Regions from separate parts of the Homo sapiens genome. Here all the other regions are linked to region 1. The links are contacts of gene promoters, found by promoter capture Hi-C in blood cells and fetal thymus (Javierre and others, 2016). All regions are on one chromosome and are shown on one strand. The core of a region is centred on a gene start or on the middle of the fragment in contact, and the rest is flanking DNA. Distances in the headings are between cores, read along the strand shown. Region 1 holds the start of VCF1 (VCP nuclear cofactor family member 1). Region 2 has its middle 4.5 kb from the start of RPL38. Region 3 overlaps LINC00511 (long intergenic non-protein coding RNA 511). Region 4 overlaps SLC39A11 (solute carrier family 39 member 11).

The links. The method cuts DNA at HindIII sites, captures the fragments that hold promoters and counts their contacts. A CHiCAGO score of 5 or more calls a contact.
Region 2: a contact is called between a fragment that was not itself captured here and the fragment with the promoter of VCF1 in region 1, in 4 of 17 cell types (total B cells, activated CD4 T cells, endothelial precursors and 1 more). The highest score is 8.9, in total B cells.
Region 3: a fragment that was not itself captured here is called in contact with the fragment with the promoter of VCF1 in region 1 in 3 of 17 cell types (M2 macrophages, M1 macrophages and fetal thymus); the score reaches 6.1 in M2 macrophages.
Region 4: a contact is called between a fragment that was not itself captured here and the fragment with the promoter of VCF1 in region 1, in 6 of 17 cell types (fetal thymus, non-activated CD4 T cells, total CD4 T cells and 3 more). The highest score is 10.2, in fetal thymus.

The regions. Positions count from the first base shown.
Region 1 is chr17:73,231,144-73,234,165 of GRCh38, reverse strand. VCF1 (VCP nuclear cofactor family member 1) reads left to right here and starts at 1,772. Exons shown (of 4, transcript NM_001098832.2): 1 at 1,772-2,080. The coding sequence starts at 1,860. It overlaps MTNAP1 (mitochondrial nucleoid associated protein 1), which reads right to left and starts at 1,733. Exons shown (of 6, transcript NM_001351264.2): 1 at 1,677-1,733; 2 at 841-946. RefSeq lists an enhancer at 2,279-3,022. The HindIII fragment of the contact is 5,222 bases long and covers 1-2,385 here.
Region 2 is chr17:74,197,658-74,200,679 of GRCh38, reverse strand. No RefSeq gene overlaps it. Among named protein-coding and RNA genes, the nearest start is that of RPL38, 4.5 kb to the left of the region's middle. RefSeq lists a silencer at 721-770. The HindIII fragment of the contact is 1,277 bases long and covers 801-2,077 here.
Region 3 is chr17:72,600,894-72,603,915 of GRCh38, reverse strand. LINC00511 (long intergenic non-protein coding RNA 511) reads left to right here. Exons shown (of 5, transcript NR_033876.1): 4 at 108-813. Among named protein-coding and RNA genes, the nearest start is that of LINC00673, 9.6 kb to the right of the region's middle. RefSeq lists an enhancer at 112-1,079. The HindIII fragment of the contact is 1,316 bases long and covers 861-2,176 here.
Region 4 is chr17:72,707,318-72,710,339 of GRCh38, reverse strand. All of the region lies in intron 7 of SLC39A11 (solute carrier family 39 member 11), which reads left to right. Among named protein-coding and RNA genes, the nearest start is that of LINC00511, 68 kb to the right of the region's middle. The HindIII fragment of the contact is 4,413 bases long and covers 1-3,022 here.

The DNA of each region.
Region 1 (3,022 bases), core at 523-3,022:
TGTATGTAAAAACCTAGCACTGAGCCTGGCATACAATATTTGTTCACTTAATTCTTTAGATATAAACGTTTAAATATTATTCAGTACTACAACTGATAATATCTTCTGACTACCAAAGAGATTAAAAAGGGTGACTGAAACCACTTACAAAATAGACACAATCTTCACCAATCCATTCAATAAAGCAACCAACCCACCTTATCCTGTACGAAGTCCTTCAAAACAAAACTGTTTTCTGCCAACAGATTACAGTAATCATTTTTACTTTGTTGTTGTTTGGTCTTTTTTTTTTTGAGATGGAGTCTTGCTCTATCACTCAGGCTGGAGTGCAGTGGCGCGATCTCGGCTCACAGCAACCTCAGCCTCCCAGGTTCAAACGGTTCTCCTGCCTCAGCCTCCCGCGTGGCTGGGATTACTGGGATTAAGGGCGTGCGCCACCACGCCCAGCTAATTTTAGTATTTTTAGTAGAGACGGGGTTTCACCATGTTGGCCAGGCTGGTCTTGAACTCCTGACCTCAGGTGATCCACCCGCCTCGGCCTCCCAAAGTGCTGGGACTACAGGCGTGAGCCACCGCGCCCAGCCTGCTGGGATTACAGGCGTGAGCCATCATTCTTTCTTTCTTTGGAGGTACACACTAACAGGATGAAAGCCACAGACTGTTTGTTTACAATAATACACACAAATGAAGCCAGTCCATGGACCTTCGGCTAACAACGTTAGGAAGGGCTTGACACCTGCTAGACGTTTCTGCCTCCACTCCACCTCACACTCAACCCTACTTGAAAGATCCCGGTACATTCCCACGATAACGTCTATACGTGGGTGTCTGTTTTCTTACCCGAGCTCCTCCAGGAGGATGCTAGTTTTGTGGGTGCTTCTCCCGGATCCCCATGCTTCCCCGATCACCGTTCCCGAGTGTGGCAGAATGAAACGTGAATGTCAGCCTGTGTAGGACACGATCAGACAGGTGACTTGGCAGCATGCACAGTGAGTAAACGCGGCACGATACTGAACCAAATAGAAACACAGGTTCCGGAAAGCAGAGAGTTAAGACCTCCCCAGCCTCCGGGCTCAAGGAGGACCTCAATAGTTCCACTAATCCTCACCCTCACCTCCGGCGCTCTCCAGCCGCCTTTCCCTCCTCCCGCTGCGTTACCAGCCTGCCCACCTCCCCGCACCCTTCCTTTCCCTGAAAGCTGTTCTGATTCTGCCAGCTGTTCTGATTCTGCGGAGTGGATGGGGTCGGCCCGGCAGCTCCTGGGTCAGGGACAGCCGTTCCCGCAGCCCCACCGAGGATTTCCTCCTGCGGTTCCAGGAAGACCCTCCGCCGGCCCCGGCACCCGATTCCCTACCCTCTCCGCTCAGGAGAGTCTCCCCCAGACTTAGAACGTGGGCCGCGGAAAACAAACCCGCCCTTGCAAGCTCCCCACAGAGCACCGTCCTCACCTCGGAAGACCTGAAAGCCCAGGCGGCCCCGGCGACAAGCCCCCCAGGGAAGCCCCCCAGGCCCCTGCCCAACCCCCGGCCAAGGAACCTCGTCAGGCCGTCTGCACCACTGCCGGATAGGTCCGCCTGTTTTAAAATATGTTACACGGATTCAACTCAAATACTTGTATGATATTATTATGACATAATTGAATTTATTTGAAACCTGGCTTGACTTTTATACCGTACCCTCCGTTGGCTGTGAACAGGCGAGCGCTTCTGCCACCCCAGGGGAGGTCCTTTCTCCCAGAAGCTCCTAGTCGCTCCTCCCGCTCCGAGCCCGCCTCTTCCCGTGGGCGGGGTTACCAGTCGGTGCGGTTGGGATGGTGCCACTGCGCAGCCGCGAGAGGGCGGTACCACGGCGGCAGCGACATGGGGGGGCGCGGAGCAGACGCCGGAAGTAGTGGTGGTACGGGTCCGACTGAGGGGTACTCGCCACCGGCTGCGTCCACCCGAGCGGCTGCGAGAGCCAAGGCCCGAGGGGGTGGGCGTGGCGGCCGCCGAAACACAACCCCCTCTGTTCCCTCTCTTCGCGGAGCGGCGCCGCGTAGCTTCCATCCGCCAGCTGCCATGAGCGAGCGCCTCCGTCCCAGGTGAGAGGGAAGGGACCCCCTTTCCATTCGTCGCCTGAGGATCTGGGAGATAGAGCCGAGGGGGCGCGCGAAATGGGGGTCGGAGCAAGAGTGGACCCGGCGGGGCTCCCTGTGGGGTGCACTGCGGGCCGGGGGAGGAGGGGAGAGGGATGCGCGAGTGATCGGATGCTTGGTTCCTGTGGGTAGCTGGAAGGTGACTCTCCGGGGTCCAGGTCTCCCGCCCCTCCATCTTTTTTCCCCCCTGTCTTTTCCTATTTGGAACGAAGTGTGATCGGTCCCGGAAGAGAGACGGTGGCCCTAAAGCTTTCCTGTCCTAAATTTAGGAGGGTGGGGGGATGGGATAAACGTCTCATCTTGGAGAGGGAGCCCCCAAAGGCTTTTGTGAGGGCACCGGGCGGGGAGCTGCCGGCTCCCCAAGGTCAGAAAGAAAGGTTGGGCTTAACCCCGCAGCAGGGAAAGATTCGGTTAGACCGAAGAACTTGTGCCCTGAACGGTTGTGAACACAGAAGGGCAGATGACCAAGGCGGGTTATGGATCTTCTCTTGACTGTGGCATTAAGAACAAGCTGGATTCTAAACTGTTTGGATTGCGGGGCCGTTTGACTCCGAAGGCGGGAGGAAAGATTTTATCGCGATGCACTCGCTACCTTCCCGAGGGAGCCTGGCCTCGGGACGCGGGTCTTAAATTAGGGGTTCTGTGCTTGACATGTACTACTAGAGTCCGGACTAAGTTGGGATTTCTTAATTTTTTTCTCTCTCTTAATTTCCTCTGCAAGAATGTGTGGAGGAGAAAGTTGGGAAAGGTTACCTCAGAATGCTCTTCCTGTTACGGTCTTTCCACAAGGATCCTTCTCTGAAATAATTATTTCATGTGATTGAAGTTCTCAAAAGTATTCTGAGTTTATTTGGTCCCATAGTGAAAACCTAGGGTTCCCCAAGCTGC
Region 2 (3,022 bases), core at 190-2,689, 970 kb before region 1:
GCCCCACTCTGGCCACCTCTGAAGGCCAAATGGTTTAGAGTTCTCTCTTCAGTTTTCAGGGACACATTGGAAAGAGGACCAGGATGGGTCAAAAAAACCCCAATGCCCCAGCTCGCAGGTGGGCAGAGGGCTGGCACGGCACATGGCTGGGAAGACTTCCCAACCTCCAGGATTTTCCCCCATTCAATCCATTCCGTTCACTTGGTGAACATCGGGCTGGGCTTGGGAATAAGCAGAATGCGGTTCCTGCTCCAAACACTCATGACTGTTGGGATCCCATAATAAGCTGTGGAGGATGCCCAGAGGCTAGGGGTCTAATTCCTCCTGAGGGAGTCCTGGAAGGCTTCGTGGAGGAGGGGACACAGTCTGCTGCCTCCGAGAGGGGTGCGCAGCAGCTTGCCCGGAGAAGGACTTCCAGACAGAAGGAGGGAGGGAGCTGACGTCAGCCCAGGGTCAGGAGAATGCGGGGTGTTTCTGAGAATGAGTGGGAAGTTCAGTGTGGCAGAGGTAAGGAGGGTCTGGGGCAGGGGGTCGGGGAGAAGAGGCTGGAGGGGGAGTTGGGCTGGAGTTCAGGGCCTTCAGGAGTTCCCCTTCCAGCCTCACTTATGCCCGCTGTGGTCATCGTCACCCAAGGGCCCATCCCTGGGGTCCATAGCACCTCCTTCACTGCCCAGCGGTGATCTTCCGAGCCTTAGTTTCCTGGTTTCTGTGTGTGTGTGCGTGCACGTGTGTGTATGTTTTGGGGGTGGGAGTGTGTGTGCTGTCGCCTCTCTCCCGCCTCGCAGGGTTGCAGCGAAGCTTCTATGGGGTGATTCGCAAAGCTCCAACCCGCACCTCTCAGGCAAGGCCCGCCCTGGGTGCTGTGTCCACTGGCGGCCGCACGGGGGCGCTGAGGCCGCGGCTGGAAACGGAATAGCCCCTTCCGCGCGACTCCTGGGAGCTCAGGCGGAGAGAAATGTCCATAAATTATCGGGAATATTTGTATGCGATTTCATACCTGGTGGAGTGCTTTCATATCCACCATCTCATTTAATCTCCAAGAGGCCCCTGCCTTTGGCTGCCGGCAGGGCTGGCCTTTAAACCATCTCGGAAGGGAGTTGTTTATTAAACCTTAAAGGTTGTCAGCAGGCCGGGACTCTGGTCCCTGGCACTGAACTCATTTACCTGGGAAAGGATGGGGAGTCGGGTGGCGGGGTGAGTTGGTGCTTTATTTATTTATTTTTTTGAGACAGAGCCTTGCTCTCTTGCCTAGGCTGGAGTGCAGAGGTGCAATCGCTGCTCGCTGCAGCCTCGACCTCTCGGGCTCAAGTGGTCCTCCTGCCTCAGCCTCCCAAGTAGCTGGGACCACAAGCATGTGGTCTTATATTCTTTCTTTCTTCCTTTCTTCCTTTCTTTCCTTCTTTCTTTCTTTCTTTCTCTCTCTCTCTCTTTCTTTCTTTCCTCTTTTTTTTAGAAATGGGGTCCCCTGTGTTGCCCAGGCTGGACTCTAACTCCTGGCCTCAAACGATCCTCCTGCCTTGGCCTCCCAAAGTACTGGGATTACAGGCTTGCGCCACTGTACCCGGCCCACTGGTGTTTTTTTAGAAACTGAAGATGGTGAGTTTAAAGGGATACTGGTTACTCACTCTCCCCCTGGCCCCCAAAGAGTCTGTGAGCCCCTGAGAGGTAGACAGGTTTAACATTCTCCCTGCTGCTGAGCTAGAAGCCACGAAGAAAGGCCAGGCAGACTGGAACAGGGGTTCTCACGCCCCACATGGTTGACCTTTGTGGATGGGGTCACTTTCACTTTTTGTTTAGGGGCTGAGGCTCTTCTGAGCCTTGTGAGGATCCCAGGCCCCTACTTGGTTAATGCTAGACCCTCACAATTGTGAGAAACGAAAATGTCTCTAGACATTGCCAAATGTCCCCGGGGGAAAGCAGGGCAATGCCACTTGTGGTTGAGAGCCGCTTGACTAGAAGGCCAAAACCACGAGGACATTCTTTTTCATAATGGATATCTCTGTTCTGTGCCTATGGCCAGGTAACTCATGGGCTCAGGCTACTGTCTTATTTGCACCTAGCCTAGGGTTTCAAAGCTTTTCTGTGGATGCTGTAAGGAGGACAGCCCTGGGTGCTGCCTCTGCCCGGGCTCAACGGGTGGCAAGGCGGGGTGCAGTCGGCTCTAGTTACCAGGAGCCTCGTCCCTACTCTGGGAGGCAAGGCAGCTGATGTCAGCCCAGAGCGGGTGGGGACACCTTTTCCAGTGGGAAGCCTCGGGATGGGGTGGGGAGCTGGGGTGGGAGAAGGGAGGAGAGGCATGGGGCACGTCTTTAAGGTGCCTCTAGGTACCTAAGTGGTGAAGATGCACAAATAAGATCCTGTCCCTGTTCCCATCTCAAGGGACACACAGAATAGTAAGGGAGGCAGTGATGAGGTTGGGCCCTAGGTGTAGGAAGTGTTTGGAATTGTGGGACCAGATGGAGGCCATGGGGGTCTGATACAGGCTGGGGAAGGGGTGATACAGGCCAGGAAAGTCCTCCAGGAGTAACATCGATGGTGATTCACAAAGAGGAGTAGAATATTGCTTTGTCCTGAAAACCCAACACCTCCAGAGGAGCCTGCTAGTATGTGCAAACCCTCATAGCAAATAAGTTCCAGGGTGACAAGAATGAAAGAAGCATCAGATTGAGTGGTATCAATCTAGGTGGTCTTCCTGGAGGAGGCAGTATGATAGGGTGGGAGGAAAACTCTTCCTGGAGGCAGGAAGTCTTAGATTCAAATTCAGTGTCTGGCTGGGAGAATTTGAATGAGTCTCCTGAGAGCTCTGAGCCTCAGTTTCTGTTGAGTATTAATTCCTGCTAGGATCCAGGCCACTGCGGCCAGTTGTGTGCAGCCTGCACAACTGTCTGCAGCTGCCCTGCTTATGAGAAACCAGAAGGCACCAAGAATAGAAAAATGCTTAGCCCAGCAGCCGGCTCTGTGGCTGTTAATTGAATGTGATTCCCAGGCAAGAGTTGCCAATGGATTTGGAGGAAAAAACCTG
Region 3 (3,022 bases), core at 269-2,768, 630 kb after region 1:
GACACCTAGAAGCCTCTCAATAAACCTTTCATTGAATGAGTGAATGAATAAATGAATAACAATGTGATGGTTTGTTATTTTTTTCATCAGCTGTGTTTTTTCTACAGAGCCCATGGAACAGACTTACGGCGTATGACCTCATCGGAGACTTGTACATGGGGCCAACCCCCATTTTCCCACAGGAAACCCACACTCTAATTAAGGGCTGACCCTGAACTTGAATCTGAGTCTTCTCTTTCTTCAACAGAGAGCCATCTCTCCAGCCCAGCTGGCAAGGAGACAGGTGATGTTACAGGAAAAAATACACAGCTTGTGCCCTTGGAATTACCAGAGTTCAAAGCCTGTTCAGCATCTACCCACCATGTGACCCGGGTCGAATTCTTCAGTTTCTCTAAGCCCATTTTCTCATCTGTAAGATGGGGAAGTGTAATCAGTTCTGAACCCACATATACCTCACTGGGCTTGAACAGGCCTGAGCAGGCATGTGGGGCTTTACTAGCTAGCCATCCTTTCTGCCGCTCTCCCTCATTCTCCTTCAAGCCCCCCAAAGTCCTTGGTGGAGGAGGAAGTGGAGACAGAACGTTTGGTGTTGGGTGAGGTACGTGAGGAGGCTGATTTCAGAACCTCCAGGAAACAAAGCTTTAGTGTTCCGAGGGCAGTGCCCGCCTGTGCCTCCTCCTCACAGGGGGTAGTAGGAGTGGGGTGGGGCCGAGGCATTTCCCAGCACAGCTCAATCACATCTCCTGCGCCTGCCCTTGTGACCTGCTCACTGGAAAGGAAGAAATGACCGAGGGAGAAGGGAGGGCATTTGAGGTGAGTGCCTGAACTGATGTCTTGGAGAATATTTGCATGACAAAGCTTCTTGCAAAATCTGGGTAGGACTTCCAGTTAACCCCCTGGAGGAGGCTTGGGGAAGTTGTGCTCTGAACCCACACACACCAGGTCGCCTTTCTGTGTTGCCCTATTTGGTTTCGCTAGTTCTGCCACAGGGAGAAGGTGTGTTCTGGATGGGTCCCCTCCCTCTGTCACCTGGTGCTGGCACTTCTGGGTGTCTGGGTCTTTCTGAAGCCATTTCATTCACGTTTCCCCTGGATGTGAGACTGTGTTGTGTTTGTTCTGACTGTCCTCTTGTAGAAGAGACGGTAGCTTTGCTTTTCTCTCCATCATACCCCTGGAATGCACTTCTTTGCCACACTCCAGCCTTTGACTCAGTCACCTCCACATCACCCTTTCACCAAACTTCTCTGTCTGCTTTTAAAGCCAAAGTCAACTTGACTAGACCCTTTGCTGACACTGCCATTTGCTGAACTAGCTTTGAATTCCAGTTATTCCAAGGCACAAACTGTGGATTTTCCTTTTCTTTTTTTCTTTTTTTGATACAGGGTCTATCTTTGTCATCCAGGCTGGAGTGCAGTGGCACAATCACGGCTCACTGCAGCCTTGACCTCCTGGGCCCAAGCAATCCTCCCACCTCAGCCTCCCAAGTAGCTGGGACTACAGGCACATGCCACCATGCCCAGCTAATTTTTATATTTTTTTGGTAGACACGGGGTTTCGCCATGTTACCCAGCTTGGCCTCAAATGCCTGGGCTCAAGCGATCTGCCCACCTTCGCCTCCCAAAGTGCTGGGATTACAGGCGTGAGCCACCACGTCTGGCCAGATTTTCCTTTAACATCACCTGCCTCTCCGTCACTTATATGGGTGTGATGGATGTGTATGTACCAGTGTCGGATGATCTAGTTTTGATCAGTTTCATAAGTTACCCCTTCTTCAAGAAGCCTCTTTTCCCTCTAATATAGCATAGGTTTATGTCTTCCCTTGTTCTTACCACACTCCGCAATAATTTAATTTAGTTGTTTACTTATTTATTCCATCTCCCCACAAAAAAGAGACTTTGACTCTCACCTTTGATATTATATCCCCAGTGCCTAGCACAGTACCTGGAGCTTACCAGATGCTAAATAGATGTTTGTTGAACAAATGAATGAATGGTCACCACTGTTCAATCTAGAGACAGAAAGCTACCAATTCACATTCTTCATAGCACCTCTAGGACAGACACTATCCTTTTTATATCACAGACCATCAAGAGTATTGACTGGTAGAATGATGTTGGCACGTAGGTGCAGGCTAATTAATTCCACCGGCTTGGGCGGCTTGCTGTAATACCAAGCTTTTGGTTAGGACTTTGTGGGTGAGCCGTCTGGAAATTGATTCAGCACAGTTTGGGGAAGGAATCCGTTTGTCCACATTCAAGAGCACTATTTACCTGCATTTGCTTTGTTGGCAATTTAACATTATCAGTCAAATTAAACCAGCCAATGTTGACTGAGCCCCTGTTAAAAGGATTAAAAACAAAAAAAAAAGCAAGCAAGAAAGCATATGTGATATACTCCTTGATCCCAGAACACTTAAAATTAATGGGAGGAGCCAGAAATGTACACATCTTAACAACCACTGGTGAAAGACAGTATATCTCAATGTCAGATGAATGGAGTACATGATAATGTAAGGGAAGTTCTGAGAAGACAGCCATCGCGGGGGTGGGTTGGGAAGGAAGGTCATCCCAGGAGTCTGAAGTACCTGCCTGGCACAAGGCAGGGCACACAAGAGGCACTCTGCAAGGACAAGCCCAGCAAAGTCCGAAAAGCATTTCTGGCAGATGGGATGGTGTGAGCAACGGTGGTGGTGGTGGGGTCATCACAGTGTGAGGTTGTAGGACCTGCACCAGGCTGGGAAGAATGGAATAATGGAAATATTAGACATTTGAAAGCCATGAGTCACAAACACTCAGAAGGGTGAAGGGGATGGAGCAAAAGAATACAGAATGTGTCTAAGCTTGGAACCCTGATGTCTGGGAGACTTAGAAAAATCACAGGCCTCAGCAAAGAATCCAGCAGGAAAAAAAAATGATTTGTGATTGGTATCTTATTTTGGATTCTTCTCGAGGCAGAGAAACGTTTGTGTGTAACTGGATTTGTGAGTTTATCTTTGGAAGAACAAAGAGAGAGAATTGGGAGG
Region 4 (3,022 bases), core at 356-2,855, 520 kb after region 1:
ATACACATTCAAGCCAAAGCAGAGATGAAAGAATAACAGGATGTGATTCAAAGAAAACAAATCAAGGTGAAAACAAAGGTGGGTGGATTTAAAAAATGAGAACCACAGGGGAACTGAAATCATGGTGCCAGAGTAGAAAGTCACTGGCAGGAGATAAGAACAGCACTGGCATTGTAGAAAAGCATGCTGGCTGTATGAAAGAAAAATGATATATTCTCCCTGTAAGCAAAGGACGAAGAGGGAAATTAAGAGAGACAGGGGAAGCAATAGGTGTGGTTGGCAGAACAGATGACCCAGAGACTTCTGCATGTTCCTCAAAGAGCAACCAGATCAATTTGAACAGGAGCAACAATCAAAATTATAATTGAAAATAAAACCTCTGGAACCTGAGGGGAAAATAATCTGAGGATGCAGCTCAAAAGAAATCAACCACATTTTAGTTGAATTTAATGAAAAGAAAATTGCAATGTGACATATCCTGGGAAAACTTTTGAGTTGCAGATACATAAAATATCACAAAACCATCCAGATAGGAAAAGCAGGTTACTTATAAAAGAGTTAAGTTCAGGTTGATCAGCAATTAGAAGTGAAAAGGGACATTCACTGAAAGGATACAGGAAATAGGGGCAAGAAAATCTTCAGCTTCATGAACTGAAATTGAACCTGGAAAGTTCTCTCTCTCTCCCTGTCTCTCTCATACACTTACGTGCACACACACAAACTTCCTTCATCATTTCTTTGCCCAACAGCCATTGTCCATTGAATACCTTTTTCTTTATCAAGTTTTAATTAAGTGAGAAGGAAGATATTTGGCTCAGCTCATCTCTGTTCAAGGAGAAACCCTCAAGCAATAGGTGAAAGAGCAGCCTATACATCAGATCTCTTGAGGCAGGTGTCCACACCTGGGCCAATTGGTGAGCACACCTATCAAGAAAGAGCTCAAGCCAGGCATGGGGACATGCACTTGTATTCCCAGCACTTTGGGAGGCTGAGGTGGGAGGATCACTGGAGCCTGAGCAACATAATGAGACCCTGTCTCCACAATAAAAAAGCACTCAGCTATTTCCTCATCAGGCAAGTGAGTTTAAAAAGAAAAAGGCTTGGCCGGGCGCGGTGGCTCACGCCTGTAATCCCAGCACTTTGGGAGGCCGAGGTAGATGGATCACGAGGTCAGAAGATTGAGACGATCCTGGCTAAGATGGTGAAACCCTGTCTCTACTAAAAAATACAACAAAAATTAGCTGGGTGTGGTGGCAGGCGCCTGTAGTCCCAGCTGCTCAGGAGGCTGAGGCAGGAGAATGGCATGAACCTGGGAGGCAGAGCTTGTAGTGAGCCGAGATCGCGTCACTGCACTCCAGCCTGGGCAACAGCGCGAGACTCCGTCTCAAAAAAAAAAAAAGAAAAGAAAAAAGGCTTTGCCTAGGTTTCTCAGAAAACAGAGCCAAAGGCAAAGTTCATGCGTTATGAGTTGTGAGCAGTGTGCTGCCGCAGAAGCAAAAGTGAAAAGGAAGTGAACAACACAGGAAGGCAAGAAAGCAAATCCAAGGCTTATCATTGAGCTAGCTACAGCTTCTCAAAACAAGTCAATCTTGATGCTCAGTCATGGGTTGGGAAGAATATCTTCAAGGAGACTGAATGGAACTGCTGAGTGAACTCTCCTTGGAAAGGGCAGAGAGATTGTAGAAGAATGGAGAAGCAATGCTGTGGCCATGGGTCTTCCTGAACTTGGGGGTCCCTGAGACCATCCCCGATATTAGGAGATGAGGTAACAGGCTGTAGGCAAGAATGACATGATGTACCAGTCAAGGTTCTCTGGAGAGACAGAACCAATAGGATGTGTATATATAGAAAGAGATTTGTTACGAAGAATTTGCTCATGTGATTATGGGAGCCAGCAAGTCCAAATTCACACAGTGGGCTGGCAGATTCAAGACCCAGGAGAGTTGATGGTGTGGTTCTAGTTCAAAGGCAGTCTGCTGGAGAGTATTTTTCCTTTTCCTACTTGGTGGTGGATCAGTCTTTTTGTTCTATTCAAGCCTTCAACTTACTTGGATGAGGCCCACTTAGATTCAGGAGGGCAGTCTGGCCTACTGTACCAATTAAAATGCTTATCTCATCCAAAAGCCCTCACAAAAACACCCAGAATGTGTGACCAAATATCTGGGCACCTCCTGGCCCAGTCAAGTTGACACATAAAATTAACCATCACACATGAGAATTGCTGGGGCTGCTCAAGCAGGATACAGGGCAAGTGGCCAATGTCCAGAGTCCAGGAGAACCTCGGAACTGGAGTGGAGCAGTCTGGTTCTGTACAATGGACTTGGCAAGCAGATTGACTACCATGTCTGGTACAAAATTATTATAGTGTAGTTATTGTTCTGCAGAAATTAGAATTGATTATGTGTTTATCTTTAAATTCTATTGACTTGCCTCTTACTGATAAAACCCTTATCGTTTAAACTGGTTGTCCTTTGAGGATATTTTTGCCATGCTTGAGAAGAATGGATAAAAAGAGGCTTCAAGGCTGAACTTTGGCTTTTGCTTGGCAATTATTATTCCATGCCGTACGCTTTGCCTTCCTAACCGTTTTCTCTTTGGTGGAAACAAGATGAACCCTGACTTAATATAACAGAACAAGGATGTGTACCCATGTGGATGTAGGGGTGCCAGAGGGAATGATCGGGACTTTGTGCAACTCGTAAATGTGGAGATGATGATGTGTTCATAGTTGCTTGATGACACAGGAGTTCTTCAATATTTCTCCTCCTTAAGTGATCTTTATTTGCTTTCCTGTCTGCCCTGCAGTACCACCAGTGTCTCCCTGCCTATACATGTATACATATTCTCACTTGGGACAGGTCCACATTGTGTCAGTTGTAATCAATATAGCAAAACTTATTTTCTTTGTTGTTTTTGAGACATCTGTCATTCGGGGTCTCTTTCTGTCTTGCTCTGTCATCCAGGGTAGAGTACAGTGGCATGCTCATAGCTCACTGCAACTGCCAACTCCTGGGCTCATATG